5 separate regions of the Homo sapiens genome follow, and all the other regions are linked to region 3. Evidence: promoter capture Hi-C in 16 types of primary human blood cells and fetal thymus (Javierre and others, 2016). All regions are on one chromosome and are shown on one strand. Each heading gives the region's core, a stretch centred on a gene start or on the middle of the fragment in contact. The rest is flanking DNA. Distances are from core to core; before and after follow the strand shown. Region 1 overlaps SYT5 (synaptotagmin 5). Region 2 overlaps PTPRH (protein tyrosine phosphatase receptor type H). Region 3 holds the start of BRSK1 (BR serine/threonine kinase 1). Region 4 overlaps GARIN5B (golgi associated RAB2 interactor family member 5B). Region 5 has its middle 6.0 kb from the start of MIR6805.

What was found. Contacts are between HindIII fragments. The CHiCAGO score rates a contact against its expected background, and 5 or more counts as called.
Region 1: a contact is called between a fragment that was not itself captured here and the fragment with the promoter of BRSK1 in region 3, in 15 of 17 cell types (erythroblasts, endothelial precursors, M1 macrophages and 12 more). The highest score is 12.1, in erythroblasts.
Region 2: a contact is called between a fragment that was not itself captured here and the fragment with the promoter of BRSK1 in region 3, in 7 of 17 cell types (megakaryocytes, total CD8 T cells, erythroblasts and 4 more). The highest score is 8.4, in megakaryocytes.
Region 4: a fragment that was not itself captured here is called in contact with the fragment with the promoter of BRSK1 in region 3 in 9 of 17 cell types (erythroblasts, megakaryocytes, M1 macrophages and 6 more); the score reaches 9.1 in erythroblasts.
Region 5: a fragment that was not itself captured here is called in contact with the fragment with the promoter of BRSK1 in region 3 in 13 of 17 cell types (erythroblasts, megakaryocytes, M0 macrophages and 10 more); the score reaches 15.8 in erythroblasts.

What each region holds. Positions count from the first base shown.
Region 1 is chr19:55,169,605-55,172,304 of GRCh38, reverse strand. SYT5 (synaptotagmin 5) reads left to right here. Exons shown (of 9, transcript NM_003180.3): 9 at 1-1,109. Among named protein-coding and RNA genes, the nearest start is that of DNAAF3, 4.3 kb to the right of the region's middle. The HindIII fragment of the contact is 869 bases long and covers 850-1,718 here.
Region 2 is chr19:55,190,753-55,193,452 of GRCh38, reverse strand. It overlaps PTPRH (protein tyrosine phosphatase receptor type H), which reads left to right. Exons shown (of 20, transcript NM_002842.5): 11 at 1,712-1,790; 12 at 1,905-1,952. Among named protein-coding and RNA genes, the nearest start is that of SYT5, 12 kb to the right of the region's middle. The HindIII fragment of the contact is 4,918 bases long and covers 1-2,700 here.
Region 3 is chr19:55,282,730-55,285,429 of GRCh38, reverse strand. BRSK1 (BR serine/threonine kinase 1) reads right to left here and starts at 1,433. Exons shown (of 19, transcript NM_032430.2): 1 at 852-1,433. The coding sequence starts at 987. The HindIII fragment of the contact is 8,428 bases long and covers 1-2,139 here.
Region 4 is chr19:55,355,982-55,358,681 of GRCh38, reverse strand. GARIN5B (golgi associated RAB2 interactor family member 5B) reads left to right here. Exons shown (of 11, transcript NM_001145402.2): 9 at 1-537. Among named protein-coding and RNA genes, the nearest start is that of COX6B2, 2.6 kb to the right of the region's middle. The HindIII fragment of the contact is 3,297 bases long and covers 1-2,700 here.
Region 5 is chr19:55,392,843-55,395,542 of GRCh38, reverse strand. It overlaps a transcript of RPL28 not described here. Among named protein-coding and RNA genes, the nearest start is that of MIR6805, 6.0 kb to the right of the region's middle. The HindIII fragment of the contact is 1,380 bases long and covers 660-2,039 here.

The sequences.
Region 1 (2,700 bases), core at 35-2,534, 110 kb after region 3:
GGACTACAGGCGCCCGCCACCACACCCGGCTAATTTTTTTGTATTTTTAGTAGAGACGGCATTTCACCGTGTTAGCCAGGATGATCTCGATCTCCTGACCTCGTGATCCGCCCGCCTCGGCCTCCCAATGTGCTAGGATTACAGGCGTGAGCCACCGCGCCCGGCCCTTCTTCTTTTCTTTTCTTTTCTATTTCTTTTCTTCTCTTCTTCTTTTTTTTAATTTTGAGACGGAGTTTCGCTGTTGTTGCCCAGAATGGAGGGCAATGGTGCAATCTCGGCTCACCGCAACCCCTGCCTCCCGGGTTCAAGCGATTCTTCTGCCTCAGCCTCTTCTTTCTTCTTTTTTTGACAGGGTTTCTCTGTGTACCCTGGCTGGAGTGCGGTGGGGCAATCATAGCTCACTGCAGCCTCAACCTCCTGGGCTCAGGGGATCCTCCTGCCTCAGACTCCTGAGTAGCTGGGACCACAGGCACATGCAACCATGCCTAGCTAATTTTTTCTTTTCTTTTCTTTTCTTTTTTAGAGATGGGGTCTTGCTATGTTGCACAGGCTGGTTTCAAACTCCTGCAATCCTCCTGTGTGAGTAGCTGGGACTGTAGACATGAGCCGCCGCATCTGACCTCATTGTTCTTTCAACGAATGCTGCCTCCTACTCTGTTTCTAGCAAAGATGATAGTTCCATTGGCTTCTACCTTATCTCATCCCATACAGAATTTTGGGTGGTGAACAAAGACCTATAAGATTTGGCCAGAGAACTCTCTGAGCAGCAGATTAAGTGGAGAATGAGGCAAAAATTACCCCCACGTACCAAAAAAGGAGGCAGCAAACAAACTTACTTGCTCCTAAGCTTCCTGGTAGCCAATCGGGAAAGTGAAAATAGAACAGCTACACAGATTATAATATCCATGAGATTTTTAATTTTTCTCCAAAGGAATTCAGTAACTTTTCATGTGTGTGAGTGTGTGTGTGTGTGTGTGTGTGTGTGTGTGTGTGTGTGTGGCTGTAGAGCATGTCTTTATGAAGACAGCCCTTTATGTTACTACTATTACTGCCAATAATAATCCTCACAGCAAACTCATGAAATAAACATGATCATTATTCCCAGTTGACAAATGAGTCCAAACTGTGCTTTAGAAAATTTGGGGCTGGGCGTAGTGGCTCACGCCTGTAATCCCAGCACTTTGGGAGGCTGAGGTGGGCGGATCACCTATGGTCAGGAATTCAAGACCAGCTGGGCCAACATGCTGAAACCCTGTCTCTACTAAAAATACAAAAATTAACTGGGTGTCGTGGCAAGCACCTGTAATCCCAGCTACTAGGGAGGCTGAGGCAGGAGACTCGCTTGAACCCAGGAGGTGGAGGTTGCAGTGAGTCGAGATCGCGCCATTGCACTCCAGCCTGGACAACAAGAGCAAAACTCCATCTAAAAAAAGAGAGAGAGAGAGAGAGAGAGAATTCCTGTGAAATGCTCAGAATCACACAGCCAGAGAGCCTGTCTCTAAATCCTGGGATTGATTTAGATGATGGCAATGGGGTCCTTGGGTCTCTGTCTCAACAAGAAAGCAGAGCGATAGAAGAATAAAACCATTACAAATGGCCGTCCACACTGGGACCAAAACGTAAAAAGGCTGACATAACTTAGGGAGGGTGGTCAGGGGCAGCCTTGCTGAGGAGGTGCGGTCTGGGCCATGACTTGAATGACAAGAAGGAACGAAGCTTGCAAAGGTTAGGGAGAACAACAGTGGAATATTATTTGGTCATAAAAACAGAAGAAAGCATTGATTCATGCTTCAGCATAGATGAGTCCTGAAAATATTATGCCAAGTGAAGGAAGCCGGATACAGAAGGCTGCATAGTGCAGTATTCCATCCAAAAGAAATCTCCTGCACTGACAAATACATAGAGACAGAAAGTAGATTCGTGGTTGCCAGGGACAGAGGAGAGAGAAATGGGGAGATAAATGGGGTACGTGTTTTCTTTTGGAGTGATGAGAAAGTTCTGGAATTAGACAGTGGTGATGGTTGCACAGCATTGCAAGTGTACTAAATGTCATTCCCAATCAACTTAATAGTGTGTGTGTTTTACACCAATTTAAAAAGAAAACAAGGCCAAGCACGATGGCTCATGCCTTAATCCTAGCACTTTGGGAGGCAGGAGGATTGCTTGGGGCCCAGGGTTAGACACCAGCCTGGATAACCTCTCTATTTTTAAAATTTGTAAAGTTAGCTAGGTATGCTGGCACGTGGCTATAGTTCTAGCTACTTGGGGAGCAGAGGTGGGAGGATCGATTGAGCCCAGGAGTTTCAGGCTGGAGTACTCCAGCCTAGGCAACAGAGCAAGTCCCTGCCTTAAATAAATAAATAAATAAATACAGCCGGGCGCAGTGGCTCACGCCTGTAATCTCAGAATTTTGGGAGGCCAAGGCCGGCGGATCACTTGAGGTCGGGAGTTTGAGACCAGCCTGACCAACACGGAGAAACCCTGTCTCTACTAAAAATACAAAATTAGCTGGGCGTGATGGCACATGCCTGTAGTCCCAGCTACTCAGGAGGCTGAGGCAGGAGAATGGCTTGAACCCGGCAGGTGGACGTTGCAGTGAGCCGAGATAGCGCCATTGCACTCCAACCTGGGCAACAAGAGTGAAACTCCATCTCAAATAAGTAAATAAATAACAGCCTGGGCAACTAGTGAGACCCTTTC
Region 2 (2,700 bases), core at 79-2,578, 92 kb after region 3:
TTTGTTTCGTTTTGTTCTTTTTTGAGACAGGGTCTCACTCTGTTGCCCAGGCTGGAGTGCAGTGATACGATCATGCCCACCACAGCCTCCACCTCCCAGGCTCAAGTGATCCTCCTGCCTCAGTCCCCTGAGTAGCTGGGACTACAGGCATGTACTACCATGCCCAGCTATTTTGTTGGGGTTCTTTTTGTTTTGTTTTGCTTTCTTTTTCTTTTTTTTTTTTTTGAGACAGAGTCTCACTCTATCACCCAGTCTGGAGTGCAGTCGTGCAATCTCAGCTCACTGCAGCCTCCACCTCCCGGGTTCAAGTGACTCTTATGCTCAGCCTCCTGAGTAGTTGGGATGACAGGTGTGCACCACCATACCCAGCTAACTTTTGTTTTTTTAGTAGAGACTGGGTTTTGTTATGTTGCCCAGGCTGGTCTCAAACTCCTGGGCTCAAGTGATCCACCCACCTCAGCCTCCCAAAGTGTTGGGATTACAGGGGTGAGCCACCATGCCTGGCCAGGAGTCACTCTTCAGCAACCAGGTCACCTGTGAAAATGATGGATAGTTGACCCTTGAACAATTGTCCCCTACACAGTAGAAAATCTGCATATAACAGCCGGGCATGGTGGCTCATGCCTATAATCCCAGCACTTTGGGAGGCTGAGGCAGGTGGATCACGAGGTCAGGAGATCAGGACCACCCTGGCTAACACGGTGAAACCCCAACTCTACTAAAAATACAAAAAATTAGCCAGGAGTGGTGGCGGGCACCGGTAGTCCCAGCTACTCAGGAGGCTGAGGCAGGAGAATGGCGTGAACCCGGGAGGCAGAGGTTGCAGTGAGCCGAGGTCGCACCACTGCACTGCAGCCTGGGTGACAGAGCAAGACTCTGTCTCAGAAAAAGAAAAAGAAAAAAAAATCTGCACATAACTTTTGACTCCCCCAAAACTTAACTACTAATAGCCTACTCTTGATTGGAAGCCTTACCAATAACATAAACAACATACATTTCATCTGTAATATGTACTACATACTGTATTCTTTTTGTTTGTTTGTTTGTTTTTGAGACAGAGTCTTGCTCTGTTACCCAGGCTGGAGTGCAGTAGTGTGATCTGGGCTCACTGCAAGCTCCACCTCCCGGGTTCACGCCATTCTCCTGCCTCAGCCTCCCGAGTAGCTGGGACTACAGGCGCCCACCACCACGCCCTGCTAATTTTTTGTATTTTTAGTGGAGATGGGGTTTCACCGTGTTAACCAGGATGGTCTCGATCTCCTGACCTCGTGATGTGCCCATCTCCGCCTCCCAAAGTGCTGGGATTACAGGCGTAAGCCACCGCGCCCGGCCGTACTATATGCTGTATTCTTATAATCAAGTAGCTAAAGAAAAAAATGTTACTAAGAATATCCTAAGGAAGAGAAAATGTACTCGCTATTTATTAAGTAGATCATCATAAAGGTCTTCCTCCTTGTAGTCTTCGCGTTGAGTAGGCGGAGGAGGAGGAGGAGGTAGGAGAGGGGCTGGTCTTGCTGTCTCAGGGGTGGAGGAAAATCCATGGGTAAGCGCGTAAGTATAACTGGACCGACGCAATTCACACCGTGTGATGTTCGGGGGTCAGCTGTCTTTGGACCAGGCTCCTGGGGAAGAGGAAAGGCTGGGCAGGGTTGGAGACAGATGAGCAGCTCAGACCTGCGCTCTGAGGGTTCCCGATGCCTCCTCCCCACAGGGGTCATTGCCGGAGCCTTTGTGGGCATCCTCCTGTTTCTCATCCTCGTGGGCCTGCTGATTTTCTTCCTGAAGAGGAGGTGAGACTCAGCACAGGGCTGACCGCCTGGAGGGTGGGGGCTGGAGAAGAAGGAGGAGGACCGCTGGTTGCAGCCTCACCCCCTGAGCCTCTCATCCTAACGTCCTTTTCCCAGGAATAAGAAGAAGCAGCAGAAACCAGAACTCAGGGATCTGGTCTTTAGGTGAGCAGAAGGTCTGGGGGGTGCATTGGAAAGAATCTGGTCAAATCAAGGGGTGTTTGCTGGCTGCCAGCTAGGTCAGAGGGTGGATCAATGCATTTACCCACAAAGGTCTCAGAAGGGGCCCATGCCTCTGCGACAGGGACCACGGCCCTTCCATCGTGACTCACTCCCCAAGCAGCCTGGGCCAGCGAATTCAGTTCTGGTCTCAACTCCCGGACATTCATTCATTCAGCAGATATCAGCTGAGCACCAGCATGTATCAGGCACTGTTCCAGGTGCCAAACAAACAGCAAATGAAACCAAGATTCTTGCCCGCCAGGGGCTTATATTCTAGTACAGGAGATATCAATAAACAAGATTGCTGGGTGCGGTGGCTCATGCCTGTAATCCCAGCACTTTGGGAAGCTGAGGCAGGCAGACCACAAGGTCAGGAGATCAAGACCATCCTGGCTAACGTGGTGAAACCCTGTCTCCACTAAAAAATACAAAAAATTAGCCAGGCTTGGTGGCGGGCACCTATAGTCCCAGCTACTTGGGAGGCTGAGGCAGGAGAATGGCGTGAACCTGGGAGGTAGAGCTTGCAGTGAGTTGAGATCACGCCACTGCACTGCAGCCTGGGTGACAGATCGAGACTCCGTCTCAAAAAAATAATAGTAATAAAAAATTAAAAAAGATCATAAAAAATATGATATAAACTTTCAGACAGGGCCAGGCATGGTGGCTCACGCCTGTAATCCCAGCTACGCAG
Region 3 (2,700 bases), core at 184-2,683:
CAGGTCCCAGCCCGGCCCCACTCTGCAGGCCGCCTCCATCCCCTCCCTGGCCCTGGAGCCCCTCCAGCCTCTGCCCCTATGGGGACTGGAGCACTGGGGCCCCAAACTCCCTGTCCCAACACTCAAGGTTCCGACCGCCCTCCTCCCTCAGACTCAGGAGTCCAGGCCCCCAGCCCCTCCTCCTTCAGACCCAGGAGTTCAGCACCCCTGCCCCTCCTCCCTCAGACCCAGGAGTCCAGACCCCAGACCCTCTTCCTTCATACTCAGGAGTCCAGGCCCCCAGGCCCTCCTCCCTCAGACCTGAAAGTCCAGGACCGCAGTCCCTCCTCCCTCAAACCCAAAAGTCCAGGACCCCAGTCCCCTCCTCCCTCAGACCCAGAAGTCCAGACCCCCAGCCCCTCCTCCCTCAGACCCTGGAGTCCAGGCCCCCAAGCCCTTCTCCTTCAGACCCAGGAGTGCAGGCCACCAGCCTCTCCTCCCTCAGACTCCGGAGTCCAAGCACAGCCCCTCCTCCCTGAAACCCAGGAGTCCAGACCCCCAGGCCCTCCTCCCTGAAACCCAGGAGTCCAGGCCCCCAGGCCCTCCTCCCTCAGACCTAGGAGTCCAGTGCCCAGCCCCTCCTCCCTCAGACCCAGGAGTCCAGGCCCCCAGCCCCTCTCCTCCAGGACCTGAGTCTGCGCCCCCCACCCCCTCCATCCAGGGACCCAGGAGTCTGAATCCCAAGTCCCTTCTCTATGAGGGGCCCAGGGGTCTGGGCAGCCAGCCCCTGCCATTTGAATACCCTGAGTCCCGCCTCTGCCGCCACCTCCACCCTGCCCCCCGCCCCAGGTGTCCCCTTCTGCTAGGCTCACCTGTCTGTCCTTTGCCCAGCGTCTTCTCCAGCCGATAGGGGCCCACATATTGGGCGTGCTGGGGTGGGTGGGGGTGGGGGTGGGGGAGGTGGTAGGCGGGAGAGCCCCCACCTCCCTCCTTGGCCCCGGACGACATGGTGCCCTTGGTCCCGGCCCGACCGGTCCCCCGGCCGCCCCCCCTGCGGCCGTCGCCCCGTCTCTCCGGTGGGGGCCGGCGACCGCTCCGTCCCGGCCCCCCCGGCTGCCCCCCACCTCTCCGGGGGTCCCCAGGGGGCTGGGCTGGCCCCCCCCAGTCGGCGGGCCGCGGAGCTGGGGGAGGGGGGGCTGGCCCGGGGGGGTCAGGCCCCGGGAGTCAGCATGGCCCAGGGGGGCTGCGGGGCCCCCCCTCCCCAGCCCGTTTCTGGCCGGCCCCCCGCTTCCTGCGCCTCCCCCCGCCGGGGGGGTCTGAGGTGCGGGCCGGCGGATGCTGCAGGCCGAGGTCCCCCCCGCCCCCCCACGCGCCCTCTCTCCTCCGCCTCCTCCTCCTCTCCGCCTCCCCCCGCCACCTCGTCCTTTCTCTCCGGCACGCTGACATCACCATCCGGGGACTCCGGGCCCTTCCCCAAAGTTAACCCTTTCGGAGGGGGGAGGGGGAGCGAGGGGGGGCAGGGGGCGGGCCTCCAGCTGGAGGGATGGAGAGGAGGTGGGAGGATGCAGGAGAGAGGATGGAGGGAAGGATGGAGAGAGAGAGAGAGGACCCAACAGATGGGGCAGAGATGGAGATACACAAAGAGAGATGCTGGCTGACACAGAGACGGGAGACAGGCAGAGACGCCAGAGGGATGGAGACCACCAGAGACAGGCTGAGGCAGAGAGGGAGGAAGGGCAGAGATGGACAGGGACAGAAGAGAAGGAAGGAATGGCAAGCCGGGAAAACAGACAGGGAGAGGGAGAGAAAGCTGCTGGAAGCCGACAGAGGGATGGAGAGAGTCAGAGATTCAGAGAGACAGAGAGAGGAAGACCAACCAGAGAGGTGGGGGAGAGGGGGCGCAGATGGAGCTGTAGAGAGGGCCGGGGGTACACACAGGTGGAGGGACACGTGCTGGGGAGAGGTGGGGACATATGGAGGGAGACAGAGACAGAGAGGGGAAAGAATTCTTGGAGTTGCTGACCCAAAATTCATGTCTGTTTCCCCAGCCCCCTAAGGCCACCCATTCAGGGTAAGGGTAAGTCTGTGTCCCCACCAATGTCAAGGCCCCATATCTACCCACAGCCCAGAGTGATTTTGGATTCTCTTTACAGAGAAGCTTCCAGAACCCCCTCAGTTTCCCTGTGTTATGTTTTTAGACCCCCATATATTCTCTGTGCTCGTCATAGGGTCCTTTATATCTTCATGTGGACCCCAGTACAGCCCATACATCCCCACTGTAGCAGGTCCACAAGCATGTGCTCTGCCTGTGAGTAACCCGCCTGCCCCCATTAGCTTTCCGCATAAACCATAGATCCCTCTATGTCATGTACCCGCAAGTGTTAGACACCCATTTAATTCTCAAGTCCCCTGTAAAGCACACCCAGGGCTGGGCAAGGTGGCTCATGCCTGTAATCCCAATACTTTGGGAGACAGAGGTGGGAAGATCAGCCTGGGCAACACAGTGAGACCCCATCCCTACAAAAATTTTTTTAAAAATTAGCCGGGCATGGTGGCATGTGCCTGTAGTCCCAGCTACTTGGGAGGCTGAGGCTTGAGTCAGTGAGTTCTAGGCTGCAGTGAGCTACGTTTGCACCACTGCACTCCAGCCTGAGCAACAGAGTGAGGCCCTGTCTCTAACAAAAATAAAATAAAATAAAGTGCACACAGGAGCCTATTGGC
Region 4 (2,700 bases), core at 166-2,665, 73 kb before region 3:
GTCGGCCACGTCAATGATGGCTTCAGTGCCCTCCCGCCCCGGCCAGCTGTCCTTACTGGAGGGGAAGCCAGTGGTGGTCAGAGAGCAGCCAGAGTCGCACACCTGGGTGAAGGAGGGCAAGCGGCCATGGGGCGAGATGAAGGAGCAGCCATGGGGCGAGATGAAGGAGCCACCCTGGGACCCCAAGGGGCCACCCAAGGTGCCCTTTCGCTCCAAGCCCACCTCTGCCAGTCTGAAGAGGGAAGGAATCTCCCAGGCGCCTATCCCCCTGACCGCCTCACCGTGGGAGGACTTACGGCCATCGCCCCTCTCGGAGACCCTCATCTCAAAGATGGAGGCCACAGCCAGGGCGTCCCAGCAGCCCAAGAGGGTGTCGCAGGAGCCCATGAGGATGCCAGCCCAGCACCCCCTGGCCACTGTGGGGTCGTCTTCAGAAATTCTTTTGCCCATGCTCTTAGAACTTGAAACTGTGAGGAACACGGCCACCAAGGCAGAGGAGATACAGGAGGAATCGGGCGTCTTGAACCTTCTGCCCAGGTAGCGGGGGTTAGCAGCTATTATTTACTGTGAGCTCTGCTGTTTATGAGACAGAGATGATCACTCTTTCCTTTCACTTTTTTTTTTTTTTTTGACAGGGTCTCACTCTGTCACCCAGGCTGGAGTGCGGTGGTATGATCTTGGCTCACTGCAACCTCCGCCTCCTGGGTTCAAGCAATTCTCCTGCCTCAGCATCCTGAGTAGCTGGGATTACAGGCGTGTGCCACCACGCCCAGCTAATTTTTGTATTTTTAGTAGAGATGGGGTTTCACCATGTTGGCCAGGCTGGTCTTGAACTCCTGACCTCAAGTGATCCACCCGCCTCGGCCTCCCAAAGTGCTGGGATTACAGGCGTGAGCCACCACGCCTGGCCCCCTTTCACTCTGATATATAGTGAGTGCCGACTCTGTGCCAGGCATTGTTCTAGGCAGTGGGGATACAGTGTCCGACCATGGGGCTGGTGGTGGTGGGATGTGCTCCTGGCTTCTAGCAGGTAGAGACCAGGGATGCTGCTGAGCAACCTACAGTGCACAGGACAGCCCCCACCACAGCCCAGGTGCTCTAGGGAGCCCTCACGGAGCTGGGGTTGTTTGTGTCAAGACCTGGAGGAGAGGACGGAGGAAGCCATGAGGACATCTGGGGGGAAAGCATCCCAGCGGAAGGAACAGCCACTGCAGTCCCTGAGGCAGGAGTGTTTGTAATGTGCTGGACCACGGGGATCCCGGGGTGGGAAATGCGGTCAGAGGTGCAGCAGGGGGGCGCCCATCATGGAGGACTTTGCAGACAATTTTAGGGACTTTGGCTCTGACTCTGAGCGAGCTGGAGGGTTTGGAGCAGAAGAATGATGGAGACGGATTTATGTGTGAAGAGGCTGCCTCTGGCTGGGGCATGGAGGATGTAGGGGGGCAAGAGTGGGCACCTGGAGGACAGAAAAGGCCACAAAGACCCCATTTCCATGAAATGTCCATAACAGGCTGACCCGTAGAGACAGAAAGTGAATCGTTGGAGGCCAGGGGTCTAGTGTGGAGGAAGCGGGAGTGACTACTCATGGGTTGGAGGTCCTCTCCCCTCCCTTCCTCTTCTCTTTTCTGACGGAGTCTTGCTCTGTCGCCCAGGCTAGAGTGCAGTGGCGCGATCTCAGCTCACTGCAACCTCTGCCTCCTGGGTTCAAGCAATTCTCCTGTCAGCCTCTTGAGGAGCCGAGTAGCTGGGATTATAGGTGCTCACCACCACGCCCGGCTGATTTTTGTATTTTTAGTGGAGACGGAGTTTCACCATGTTGGCCAGGCTGGTCTCGAACTCCTGACCTCAGGTGATCTGCCCACCTCGGCCTCCCAAAAGTGTTGGGATTACAGACGTGAGCCACCGTGCCCAGCCAGGTTGGAGGTTTCTTTGTGGGTGATACAAATGCCCTGGAACTAGGTAGAGGTGGTTGCATGACATTGTGAATGTGCCGAATGCCACTTTAAGGGGTACATTAAAAAATGGTGACAAGTTTGGGCAAAAGAGTGAGACCTCATCTCTACAAAATGTGAAAACAAAAAAAGTTGGTGGTTCACACCTGTAATCCCAGCACTTTGGGAGGCCGAGGAGGGTGGATCACGAGGTCAGGATTTCAAGACCAGCCTGGCCAAGATGGTGAAACCCCATCTCTACTAAATATACAAAAATTAGCCGGGCATGGCGACGGGTTGCAGTGAGCTGAGATCGTGCCACTGCACTCCAGCCTGGGCAACAGAGCGAGACTCCGTCTCAAAAAAAAAAAAAGTTAACTAGGCATGGTGCCATGTGCCTGTGGTCCCAGCTACTCTGGAGGCTGAGATGTGAGGACTGGTTGAACTGGGAAGTCGAGGCTGCAGTGACCCACCATCGTGCCACTGCACTGCAGCCTGGGCAATAGAGTGACACCCTGTTTCTTTTCTTTTCTTTTTTTTTTTTAGAGATGGGGTTTCGCCATGTTGGCCAGGCTAGTCTCAAACTCCTGACCTCAGGTGATCCATCCGGCTTCCCAAAGTGCTGGGATTACAGGGGTGAGCTCTATTGCCAGGCTAGAGTGCAGCGGTGTGATCGTGGCTCATGGCAGCCTTTATCTTCCTGGGCTCAAGTGATCCTCCTGCCTCAGCCTCCAAAAGCCCAGCCAAGTTTTTGATTTTTTTGTAGAAA
Region 5 (2,700 bases), core at 100-2,599, 110 kb before region 3:
GAACCCGGGAGGCGGAGCTTGCAGTGAGCCGAGATGGCGCCACTGCACTCCAGACTGGGGGAGAGTGCAAGAGACTCTGTCTCAAAAAAAAAAAAAAAAGAGAAAAAGAAGGCCAGGCACAGTGGCTCACGCCTGTAATTCCAGCACTTTGGGAGGCCAAGATGGGTGGATCTCTTGAGGTCAGTTCAAGACCAGCCTGGCCAACATGGTGAAACCCTGTTTCTACTTAAAATACAAAATTAGCTGGGCATGGTGGCGCATGCCTGTAATCCCAGCTACTTGGGAGGCTGAGGCAGAAGAATCGCTTGAACCCAGGTGGTAGAGGTTGTAGTGAGCCGAGATCGCACCACTGTACTCCAGCCTGGGCGACAAGAGTGAAACTCTGTCTCAAAAAAATAAATAAATAAATAAATAAGAAAAGGAAAAAAAAGAAAGGCTAATATTCATCACATGGTATTCCAACTCTCCTTCCTTGAGACAAATGTTTGCATATTGTGACTATCCAGAGGCATTCGATGCATATACAAGCAAATACACATGCATCTTATTGTTTAAATATTTAAAAATATTTAACAGGAATGTTGGCATATCATTTACACTATTTGCAGGTTGCTTTTTTTCACTTAATATATTTTAGAGATTGGCCCAAAACATAAGCTTTTTCATGTTTTAAAAATTCTGGGTGGGGCCAGGCACAGTGGCTCACGCCTATAATCCCAGCACTTTGGGAGGATTGAGCCCAGGAGTTCAAGACCAGCCTGGACAACATAGTGAGATCGTGTCTCTACAAAACAATTTTAAAAATTAGCTGGGTGTGGCAGCACACACCTGTGGTCCCAGCCTCTCTGGAGACTGAGGTGGGAGGACTGTTTCAGCCCAGGAGTTCAAGGCTACAGAGAGCCTTGATCTTGCCACAGCACTCCAGCCTGGAAAACAGAGTGAGATTCTTTTTAAAAATATATATAAATAAATAGAAATTCTGGGCTAGGTGCAGTGGCTCACACCTGTAATCCCAGCACTTTTAGAGGCCAAGGCAGGAGGATCACTTGAGGTCAGGAATTCAAGCCCAACCTGGGTAACACAGTGAGACCTTGTCTCTACAAAAATATTTAAAACTTAGCTGGGTGTGGTGGAGCACACCGGTGGTGCCAGCTACTTCGGAGACTGAGGTGGGAGGATTGTTTGAGCCCAGGAGTTCAAGGCTGCAGTGAGCCGAGATTGTGCCACAGCACTCCAGCCTGAGCAACAGACCTTTATCTTTTTGTTTGTTTGTTTGTTTTTGAGACGGAGTCTCGCTCTGTCACACAGGCTGGAGTGCAGTGGCGTGATCTTGGCTCACTGCTACCTCCGCCTCCTGGATTCAAGCGATTCTCCTGCCTCAGCCTGCCAAGTAGCTGGGACTACAGGCGCACACCACCACATCTGGCCAGTTTTTAGTATTTTTAGTATAGATAGGGTTTCACTGTGTTAGCCTGGATGGTCTTGATCTCCTGACCTTGTGATCCGCCTGCCTGGGCCTCCCAAAGTGCTGGGATTACAGGAGTGAGCCACCGTACCCAGCTGAGACCCTGTCCCTTTAAAAAAAAGACTTGTAGCTGGGTGCAGTGGCTCACACCTGTAATCCCAGCACTTTGGGAGGCCAACACAGGCAGATCACCTGAGGTCAGGAGTTCGAGACCAGCCTGGCCAACATGGTGACACCCCCGTCTCTACTAAAAATACAAAAATTAGCCAGGCGTGGTGGCGGGCCCCTGTAATCCCAGCTACTTGAGGGGCTGAGGCAGGAGAATCGCTTGAACCCAGGAGGTGGAGGTTGCAGTGAGCTGAGGTCGCAGTGAGCCAAGGTCATGCCATTGCACTCCAGCCAGGGCGACAGAGCAAGACTCCATCTCAAAAAAAAAAAAAAAAAAACAAATTGGTGATTGGCAGGGCAGGGGCTAGAGGGGACATGAGTGGGAGTGGCTGCTTCATGGATACTGGGTGTCCATTCAGGATGATGAAATGTTCTGGAATAAGATAGGGGTTGTGGTTGCAAAGCTTTGTGAAGACTAAAAATCACTGAATTGTGCACTCTAAAAGCGTGGACTTTATGTTACGTGAATTATACCTTTTTCTTTTTTTGGAGACAGTCTTCATCTGAGCCTAGGGACCAGCTAGGAGCTTCAGGGAGGAGAGAGGCCTCAGAGATTACAGCCTAAGGAGGCTGGGGAGACTGGACAGGGCCAGATCCCGGGCCTTGCTGGCCCTAGAGAAAGGTTTGGGCTTTTATTCCTCATGGGGGTCGGGGGGGGGGGGGGGTGCGTCGGCCAAGGGAGGATGACAGGTCTCATTTATCATTTGTAAAGATCAATTTGCTACTGTGTAGAGAACAGCCTGGAGGGACAGCAGGGGAGCGGGCGGGTGTGGGAGGCCGGTGGGAGCTGGGGCCGCTGGAGGTGTGATTCAGACATGCTAGGGATGGCTGGGCCTGGGGGAGGGCCAGGTGTTCAAGAGGAACAGAGGAGAGGGGTGCTGGGGAGCCTCTGGGGGATTAGCCATTGAGGGGTGTGTTTAAATGAGTGGCTTCATCAATGCAGCGCTGATGGCCATCGAAAGGGGCCCGCAGCCTGTGTGTGCTGATGGAGAGACAGCCCAGTGCATTAGGGAAAAGGAGCAAGGGGGAGGTTCCTGTTGCCATGATCCAATCTGTGTAAGACATTA